Regions from separate parts of the Homo sapiens genome. Here region 1 is linked to region 2. Evidence: promoter capture Hi-C in 16 types of primary human blood cells and fetal thymus (Javierre and others, 2016). All regions are on one chromosome and are shown on one strand. The core of a region is centred on a gene start or on the middle of the fragment in contact, and the rest is flanking DNA. Distances in the headings are between cores, read along the strand shown.

What was found. Contacts are between HindIII fragments. The CHiCAGO score rates a contact against its expected background, and 5 or more counts as called.
Region 1: a fragment that was not itself captured here is called in contact with the fragment with the promoter of ICA1 in region 2 in 1 of 17 cell types (M1 macrophages); the score reaches 7.0 in M1 macrophages.

The regions. Positions count from the first base shown.
Region 1 is chr7:7,757,697-7,763,044 of GRCh38, reverse strand. All of the region lies in intron 2 of UMAD1 (UBAP1-MVB12-associated (UMA) domain containing 1), which reads right to left. Among named protein-coding and RNA genes, the nearest start is that of RPA3, 42 kb to the right of the region's middle. The HindIII fragment of the contact is 3,828 bases long and covers 777-4,604 here.
Region 2 is chr7:8,259,995-8,265,324 of GRCh38, reverse strand. ICA1 (islet cell autoantigen 1) reads left to right here and starts at 3,158. Exons shown (of 14, transcript NM_001136020.3): 1 at 3,158-3,231. ICA1-AS1 (ICA1 antisense RNA 1) reads right to left here and starts at 3,100. Exons shown (of 6, transcript NR_125740.1): 1 at 2,906-3,100; 2 at 2,499-2,745; 3 at 645-734. The HindIII fragment of the contact is 9,065 bases long and covers 1-5,330 here.

The sequences.
Region 1 (5,348 bases), core at 1,441-3,940, 500 kb after region 2:
TTATTTCCTAAATACTAGGTTTCCATAAACATAAAACTCCTGTTTTATATCATTGTTTATTTAATATCACTCTGATATTCTCTATTTTCGTTTAAGAGTGCCGGCTTAAAAGCATTTAAAACAATCAAACCTGCTAAAATTAATGTTATTCAATGCATTTTAAATTAAATCCATTAAATCTTACATATATGTAATGTGCTTTCAACTCATGAAGCCTTCGACGAAAACAAATTCTAATCCAGCCCAGGAAAGTGAAGAGTTAAGTGTGCAATTTAGGAAAGAAATATGGCAAGTCCATATATGTGACTCAGTCTTCGAGTGATGTTTATATCACTCTAAGACAGGGAATCCTGTCTCTGTCTGCACTATATTATGATCCTTGTCATCGCCTGCCCTGGAGCAGTTGCATATGCATCTACTTCTCCCACTAAGCAAGTCTCTCTTGAAGGGCAGAAGCAAACGAAACCTTTGTAATTTCCATGAGGCATCCCATAGCAATTTGCACAAAGCAGTCACACAATCAATGTTAAGTTATCAGAAGAGCAAAGTTCTTGACTTTGCCTTAACACACAAGACCCACGAAAAATGAAAGGAAAAGTAACTTACACACATGGGGTGGGGTTAGTGGTAGTGGTGGTAAGAATGTTAGCAAGAAACCTCGAATGAAAATATTAAAATGTGTTGTGACTTAATCAGTCACTGATGTACTTAAACAAGAGTCAAGATTTTTTTTTAAGTAACTTTTCATACTTCCCAAGTTAGAAGCTGGGGAAGCTTCATTATTTTGTTTGAAAGTTCTCCGAATTAGACACACCCATATGACACAGCCAATGTAAATAATTTGTTCTCCTGGTGTTGCCACTGCTGAACAATGATGAACGGATCAACAGTACAGATATTCCCCAAGGAAGAGTGACCTACTGTGTAAAAAATACATCCCGAAACAAGGAACTGTATTTAGGATAGGTTTCTACTTTCTGAATTCTGGCACGCCCTTAGTCCCTAACTGCCTATGAATCAGTCTCCTGAAAAACCTGCAACTGATCTTTCAAAAGCAATGCAATTCAATTAAACAAACATTTATTGAGCGCCCACTGTATAAAAAAGCACAAGAATGGAAACTGAGGGAAAAGGGCCTGCAAAGGAGACGGATAAGAAGCAACGTTCAGAATAGAAAGAAAAGATACAGAAGAGAGGGGTGTATGGAATACAAAAGAGGAACTGGTCAACATTCTCAGATGTCACAAGGGGGGAGAGCTGAGATTCTAGAAGAAAAGGTATCAAAATTCTTACTAAGTAAATGCAAACAATTGGGATCAATAAATAATAAGATGAGTGTCTTTCCATGTAAAGAATGATTCTGCCTTATAAATCTATTCCCCAATAATAAGTTCTAGTTCTATTAATGTCACTACTAACCTCCCTACCATCCAAACTTGAGATTTCTTCCTTTTCCTTTTAATAAGAAATGTGATCCGTTACCAAGTCCTATTACTCGCACCCACAAAATTTGTGTACTGCACAAGGATGTGAAAAGGAGAGGAGCATTGAAACCAAAGACATATCTTTAATAATTTTCCAGCAGATGGCAGTCAAGTGTCTTATTCTAATAAACATATTACAACAATTTTCTAACAGATGGAAGTAAAATGTCTTAAAGAAGTGGTACTTTTTTTTTTTTAGTTAGGTCTCACTTTTATCACCCAGGATGGAGTACAGTGACACGATCACAGCTCACTGTATCCTTGACCTCCTGGACTCTGGTGAGTCTCCTAAATCAGCCTCCCGAGTAGCTGGGACCACAGGCACATACCACCATATTGGCTAATTTTTTGTATATTTTGTAGAGACAGGGTTTTACCGTGTTGTCTGAGCTGAACTTGAATTCCTGGGCTCAAGCAATCTGCCCACCTTGGCCTCCCAAAGTACTAGGATTACAGGCGTCAGCCACCGTGCCCAGCTGGGGTGACCTTTTCATAATTCACAAAATGCACTAAGCAGGTCAGTGGTGGTCCTGCCCACAGTATTTCCTATCTATTTTCCAGCCTTCATTCTGGCTGCAGCTACCACAGATCTGATTCACATAGTATCTTGCAATAGCTTCCAAAATGATCCCCTAATTTCTCCATACTTCAGTCCATCCCACAAGCATTTGAAAAAATTCCCAAAAGTGCTGTTTTGCTAGTAAAACTTTTCAAAAAATCTTCAGTGGTACTGTTATTTTCTTCAATCTCACATTCAAGGCCCTTCATAGCATGTCCTTAACCTTCTCTTTTAGTCTATTCTTTCACTGTGCCCAGGAGGTGCCCTACTCCTAGCTGAACCTAATTACTCTCTACCTTACATATGTCCTGTCCTTCCCTGCCTTGCTATCTTTGTTCATGTCATTTCCTCTGCCTTGAATGCTATCCAAACTCAGTCTTCCTGCCATAAGTGCTAAATTACATTCAGTAGTATATTCTGGGGAGAGGTTTTTGGATGACTTAATATTGTCTTCAGCAAGCATCTAAAGAAAAATCCCCTCACTTTGGCTTTGGTTGGTATTCCAGTTATCTATTGGTGTATAATAAACTACTTATAACTCAAGACAATTATTATTATTATTATTATTATTATTATTATTATTATTATTTTGTATTTTTTTGTATTTTTAGTAGAGACAGGGTTTCACCGTGTTAGCCAGGATGGTTATTTGTATTATATCTCACAGCTCTGTGAGTCAAAAATTCGGGCAGAGCTTGAGCATTTCTTCTGTTCTGTGTAGTGATGTTAGAGGTTGCTCTAGGGTACTGGTAGTCAGAAAACAGTTGAAGGACAACTTCACTCACATTTGGTAGAATGGCTAGAAAGTTGGGTTCAGCTGGGAACGTCAACCAGATCATCTATACACATGCCTCTACAGCATGATGGCCTCAAGCTGGTTGGACTTCTTAAATGGTGGCTCCGGGCTCCAAGAGCAAGTGTTCCAGAAAACAAAGCAGAAGTCACATGGCCTTTTGCAACTGACCCTTGTAAGCCAGGGTCTCTTTGGCCATATTCTATTGACTGAGGCAGTCATCAGCTCGTCTAGATTCAAGAGGAGGGGGCGTCGACACAACTTTTCAATGGGAGAGTGTCAAAGAATATGCAGCCATGTTTTAACACTGCCTAAGTTAGGGAAGAAGGGGGATAATATGGCAGACTGTCTCCCAGAAAGTCTGAGCCACTTCTCTTACTGTTCCCTGAATATGTCATGGTCTTATACTTTTTCCCCTCGTATATCTTTCCTCTGCCTGGAAAGCATCTCCATTCCTCCTTCTTCCCTACAAGCATGTCTAATTGTCATACACCTTTAAGGTCTTCATCCCTAAAGGACCAGCTTAAATTTCCCTTCCTCCAAGACTCCTTCCTAGATCCTTTCAGTCAGTTTTAATCTCGTTTCAGGTTCCCTGGTACTTTTTTCTTCATGATAGTACTTTTCCCATTTACAATTTTACATTAGATTTTCATTTATGTACGAAGCAAAAAAGAGAGAAAGGCAAAAAGAAAAATAGAATGCTGTAAGCCCCGTGGCCTTGTAAATTCTCAGTCAAGTTTAAAGAGGGCGCAAAATGCTCGATGTAACCGGACTCTTATGGAATCAAGTAGAGGGCCTGAGTCCTCTGTCCAGGCTGATGCCGGATGAAGGTGACCCAGCACATGTAGACAACATACTTTAAAATATATTATTTATATGTTTATTCTAAATTAATAGCAGTTGTAATTCCTGTAGAGTCCAGGAAAGATAAACAAACTTGGGGAGAAGGAAGGTTTAGTGTCCTGTGTCCTGCTTAATGATAGTTTCTAACACTACATACACTTTTGTCCTCAAAAATGTTGCAAATGGAAGTTTCTCATGTCAGAGTAAAATCCATATCCGGCATAATCTACTGAAGAGATATACTAATGGGCCTGTGAGGTAACACAAACAACAAAAGCCAGTAATTCAAGCTATCCAGTTTAAATAACCATGTAAGAAGTGCAATTTTGAGCTAGAAAAGATCTAGTTCAATCTTATGATGAAAAATCTGAGGCCCACAGAATTTGACTAGTCCCCAAAGAACTCATTTTCTGTATAAAAACAAACACAACAAAACCAAAGCTACAAAGATCCGTGAAGCAAGATATGTACAAAAACTTGTGTGGCAGTATTGTCTCTAACAGGGTGGGGAGAGAGAGAGTGTCCACAAATGCCCACCACTCGGAGAAAGGATAAACTGTGGTACCTTCATACAAAGAAACATTACGCAGGAGTCAAAATTAATGAACTAGAGCTACAAACATCAACATGTATAAATCTGAAAAATGCAACATTGAATAAGAAGGTAAATTGCAGAATACAAAGAAAATGACAAGACTTATATAAAATGTTTAAATAAGTAAAACGGTACTTTAAATAGGTTGGAACTACACACCATATATGGTAAAAGTATAAGAAAATGGCATGGGAATGAATGGCTTCTTCAATGGAGGCTGAAGGTGCAGAGGCAGCTTCCACAGTATCCACCCACTATGTTTTCTTTCTAAAGCTGGATGGTAGGTATGTGGATGTTGGTTGTATTATACTTTATAACTTTTATAAAGCTTAATTATTATATAAAAAAATTTAAAGATAAAAAGATGGGTAAAAACAGCTTTTACACTTTCTTAAGATCTTCGCTATAAAAATTCAGCATAAACAGAGGGAAATAAAGATTAGGCAGTCTACATAGGGAATGATTCAAGACCACTGGGATAGGCTACGTGAGAAAAAGGGAAAGCAAAGACGACTCTAGTTCTCAAAATAAGGTAAGAAAAACAAACCAAAAATCCAGCCAAGGCCAAACGCGGTGGCTCATGCCCGTAACCATAGCACACTGGGAGGCTTGGCAGAACGACTGCTTGAGCCCAGGAGTTCAAGACCAGCCTGGTCAACATAGGGAGAACCCTGTCTCTAATTAAAAATAATAATAATAATGTAAAAATAATTTTAAAAAAACCCAAACAAGCAAGCACATTTTAAAAATCTTAAATAAACCACATCCCAGATTCCTCCCTCTACTTTTGCATTTCTGTTTTATGAGTGACCCCTACCCCAAAACTTCCACTCTAGACAAACCATAAGAAGATAGGATCAAACACAACACAACACAGAACCCTGCTGCGGCCTCTGGAATGGTGGCGGGAGTGGAACCAACAGCATAACTAAGACTTAGTGGGCATATATTACGTACCAGGCATTGAAAGCTTTGAGCTTTTTCTGCATTCTCTGCATTCTCTACTTAATCCACACAACATCCCTAAACGTGGGAATTGCTACCATGTTCATTTCAGAGAAGCTAAAGAAATTG
Region 2 (5,330 bases), core at 1,909-4,408:
TAGCATATGTCAGTATTTCATTCATTTGCATGGCTGAATATTCCATTACATGAATATACTACATTTTGTTTATTCATTTGTCTACAGCAGGACAGCTTTGACCTTTTGACTGTTTTGAATAATGCTGCTATAGACATTTGTGTACAAGTTTTTGTGTAGACATAGGTTTTTATTTCTCTTGGATATAGACCTAGGAGTGGAATTGTTGGGTCACATGGTAGCTCTATGTTTAATCGTTTAAGGAACTTTCAGACTGTTTTCCAAAGTGGTTGCACCATTTTACTTTCCCACCAGCAGTTTCCACCACCAATTTACATCCTCGCCTGGGTTTACCTTTGGGCAATCTTGCTTTGCCTAGGATGGCAGAATAGAATGACAGAAGGGCAACAGCCCAGTGACACAGTGGAGATCGCACCAGCCCTAGACTGCCTACCTTCCAATTTAAGTGAGAAAAAATAAAGCCCTATTTCATTTAATCCACCGCTATTCCAAGTCTCTGTTAGTAGCTTAACACAAATCCAACTCTTGTGGTCCTATTAGCATATCTTGAATCTGGGAAGCTCTTGAAAAAATTATTGAATTGAATATGTAAAGATTTTTTTCATAGAAAATTTTGTCATCCTGTTGTACACTGGAAAACGCACCTTATTTCTCTCCTAATTTCTGATCCCATCATTCAATAGCCATTCTCCTTAGAAACTGTTTCGGGTTCTCACTAGCACCTTACTGGTGTTCTGCAAGATGGAAACAACAGCTGGTTATTCAGAAACAAATGCAAGTGTTATTGATGGAGCCATTTTATTTAAGGGGAAGGAAAAGTACTCATTGTGGTGATGGAGAATGAGCAGGAGTTGTCTATTATTTCCTTTCTCAAATATTATGCTAAGTGTTAGGACAATAATTAGAATGAAGAAAAATCAGTTAAGGTTTTCTCCTAAACTCTCCGGGAGCCCAAAGAATTTCAGTGCCATGTTGACTACATAATGCTTGTATCATGTATTTGTTCTCTTTTAGACATTGCTTTTGAAGCCACTTTTAGCCTCTGTAACAGGTTAGACTCACAGTCATCGTTTTCACCTTGGAATTCAGAAAGCATAAAAGAAAACTGCGTAATCAGTTGCAGCTCAGCTGTCCCCGTTTTTTCCCTTCATGCTTTTGTTCCAATCATCTGCATTTTGAGGGGATACTTTGAACACACACACAACCTCCCATTCTACTGGCTGTTTTGTAACAGATTTAAATATTTGCCCCAAAGCCAGCCTTTGACCAATGGGGCTTCTGATTAAGTTTTCATGTAACTGGTAGAAAGGAGAACATTACAGAGTCAGGAAAAACTTTTCAGGTGATTTAGTCCTTTCTCAATGCTTCAATTAACTGATGATAACGCTCAGTCAACATTTATCGGGCACCTATGATGTTCATTACGGCACTTCATTCTGTTAAAGAATAATAATCTCTTTATCCTTTTAACTCCCGATAATAGCTTTTTACACATAAATTTACAGTTCTTGGAATCAATGTATCTTAACATATCTTAATCATCTTTCTTTTGTAAGGAAGACTTTCTCATTTTAAAGGCTTTGGGTTTTTTTTCTTACAGCAAAATCATTTGGCTTGCGTTGTTAACACGTTAGTTTGAATTTTTTTTTATAAAAGCCAAATATATATAAGCAATGCTTTTCTCTCTGAAAATTTCTCCTGAATCTTAGCTTTTCAACAATTTGCTATTTTGTAGACCATATTCATGATTTGTTTACTCATACACACTTACTAAGGAGATGTTTACTCAGCTCCAAAATTCGTGTTAAGACTAGGACAGGCTCAAATCTATGACAAACAGAATCCCCAAAGAATAACTTTAAAGGTTATGTAAATTTCTGGAGGTATCTTATTATCTTTCTATTAAAATGTCAACATATTCTATACTTTTTCTCCATCCATTCTGGCAAGACACCATGCTATCTTGAGATTAAGCTAAGTCTCCTGGTTCAGATTCAAATCCCTGCTCAATAATCTCTTTATGGCACTCTGGGCAGTGTCTTCATCTGTGAAATCGGGATAATGATTTTATCTACAGTATTGGGTTGCTGTAAGGATTAAATATAAAGCATACAGCATGTGCCGGACATAGAGCTAGCACTCCATCCATGTTAGCGCAGGATTTCTGATTCGTCAGCATCATTACTCAATAACTATCATTCGGCCCTTTTAAATTGTTTCAGCGACGACTGAATGAACTTATTTATAAATGTATAACATAACTAGGGATGAAGTCATACTACATTGAGGTTTCATTTCCACATAGATAATATTAGGAAGCAGCTATGCCAACACTTTTTCTTCCTGTGATCTGTATACTGCAGGGTCTCTAGAAACAATGGTTTGGTTCTTTCCTGGTGACAAAGGATAAGAGAAGATGAAACTGCTACAAATGGCAATAACTTAAAAATAAAAGATACAGAAATATATGGAAATGAAAAACATATACCTATACATACACAGCTGTTTTTAAAACATGACCTTTATTCTCGAAGCTCAAACTTGATTTCCAGGTACAGCAGGCCTCTGTAACTTTTCTTGGCAGTGAAGTCATGAAGTCTCCTGTCCTCTAAAGCTACAGAAATTTAACCTGGAAGCAAGCAGTAGGCACTACGCACAGCACAGAGGGAACCCTGGGGTGTACGCTGTGGCTCCCACCTGTCCGCCAGGTCATTGTGACGCAAACGCTATGGCCACGTGGAACACCTGCCGGAGAGCAGGGGCGGGGTCACTCTGGGCGGCGGATCCGAGCGGGGGATACCCCAGGAGATGGGGGTCGAGGAGAGACCCCGGGGAGTAGAGAGAGAGAAACTCACTCCCCGAGTCCCCGACCCTCCCCAAGCAAGGTGAGGTCAACGCCACCCACCTTCCCCCGGTCACCCTGGGAGGGGTCGCTCCGGCGGGCGTCTGCTGGAGGGTAGAAGCGGGGAAGGGAGGCAGCGGCGGCGCCCAGGCGGCGGTAGGTAGCCGGGCGGCGAGGGCGCCCGCACCCCCCGGCCGCTGCGCTGCGCTGCGGTGCGCACGGGCTCCGCCGGTTGCTATTCCGGCTGGTGGCGGCCGCCGCAGGAAGGGCCGGTTCCTGCGCTCCCCCCGCCCCTTTCCCTCGCCTTCGGCTGACGCTGACGTCGGATGAGTGATCCGGAGGGACGCTCCGACCGCGGCCGGGAGGCTCCTGGGGGCCGGGGCTCCGAGGTACCTGCCCTCCGGGGTCGGGGCGGGGGCGCGCCGGGCGGGCTGCAGGAAGCAGCAGGAGACGCCCGGCAGCCGGGACGGTCGGGGACGCCTGGTAGGAGCTGCCTTCTCTGCCCTCCGCGGGCGGCGCGTGATAGGCGAGTCGCCTCCTCGGGTCCCGGATCCCGGTGCGGGAACCGCATCAGCCCCTTCCCCTCCCCTCCTCCCTCCGGCCTGGGAAGGTCTGGAGGATGCGCGCGCCGTGAGAGCGTGCGTCAGCCCCGGGGGAGCGGTAGGGAAGCGTTCCGCGCTCCGGCCCCAGCGCTGGGAGCACCGGCACCCATGCCAGCCCACCCCACCCACCCACCGCGCGCCTCGCCTTCCCGGCGGCTCCGGCCCCAGGACCCCGAGCTCCCTGGTGGGCAGGGACTTGCGTCCAGGGTTGACTTGTTGACAAGTTCACCTGCCGCGGCGCCTGGTGTGTGCTTTTTCTCTTCCCCTCCGTGGCCCTTTTTTTGGCAGGGGCGGCAGAGAGCATATGGGTACCTCTTTATAACCACTAGTGCCAGGAGGCCTGAGCTTGGTCCCCCGGGGGCGAGGTGCTCAGCAGTCTCGGACTAGACGGGGCGAGAACCCCTAAGCAACCCCGGTTCCAGCAAACCCTGGCGCGCCCGTTTCCTTTGGGCGCTGCTGACTCCGCCTTTCCTGCTCCGGGGCTATTGCAGCTCCTGCTTCCTCTAGAAACGAACATATCCTGTTGTTATGTCTGCCTTTCCCCCAAAGCGGCTCTCCAGGAACCTTTCCCACTGTCTTTTTACTTGTAGTACCCCCAAAGCACCTGAGCTTCTCTTTGGGGTCTTAAAAGTATCGCGCCCTTATTCTGGCGAAGGGCATTAACTGCCTGGTTGGGGAGAGTTAGTTTGGAAAGAATCGCGTTCTCTTCATTTAGATGGCATTAAAAAATTAGCGCAAGAAAGGGTTTTGTTCATGAATCTTAGTAACCGAGATCTGGTAACGGTATAAAAATTATCAAGGCCTGGAAAATATGTCACCAGCTTGCTTGGGAGTGATACTGAATGTAGGAAGAAAGACACATAAGGCATTTATTGGCCATTAAGGTCCTATAAAATATGACTCATCGCAAACATGTTTTTGTCCATACGTTTCAGTGAAGTCTCTTCGGAAAATCTCAAATTGGTTTCTGTGGCCCTCTGGTTTGAATCTGAGATCTGAACTGTTCTGTGGTTAGGGAGTGAAATAAGAAATGCTTAGTTTGAAATCTAGGCTCCCGATGCAATTTCATACCCCCTGTTTAAAACACACACTCTCTAAAAATGCTTTTAAGTAAGTTTTCAAACCAAAGATATATTTTTAGATTTCAGTCTTTATTTTTGAAACACCCTTTGTAGAGAATACCACAGGGACAAAATCAATTTATAATCCTGAATAGCTCAAATATCACTCTTTGGTTTTATACTAATACTGTACATACATCTTAATTGCAGGAGATGTTGCTTTCTAATTGTTTCTGTTTGTATTACAAAGGGAAATAATTGTACTGTTTATAAAGATGAATCTTTAGAAAACGTAACAGTTAAGCTACAGCGGGCTATTTGTGGAGAGACCTGATGTTAAAAAACGTTAACCCTGTATCCTCCACCCGTGGATCATTGAGTGCTAAAGATACTGGATGGTAATTGCCTGGGTGGTTTATTTTGTAACTATTTTCCCCCATTTGGAACACCTGAGTAACTATCTGACTGCTTTCTCTACGCATCTTTACCGCAGTGCATAAAGATCAATCTCACGAAAAGTATAGAAAATTTTGTTACTCAGAGCCTTCAAAATCAGTACGTTTTCAAGGTATTTGACTAAATAGTACATTTTTTTCAGGTGCAAGCAGCATTAGCGGTATGGAGGTCTGGTAGTTATGCCATAACGTAGAAGGATAAACCTATGTTTGGTATGAACTTTTAAGATTATAGAAACCTCATGCGAGAGAGGGAGGAAGTTAACAGGCCCCAAGTGTCAGGATGAATTTTTCCTCTTCGTTGGTTGAGCCTGAGGGTAGGTGGCAGTGTTTATAATCAGCACGCTGGTCACTAGTGTCCTTTTTTTCC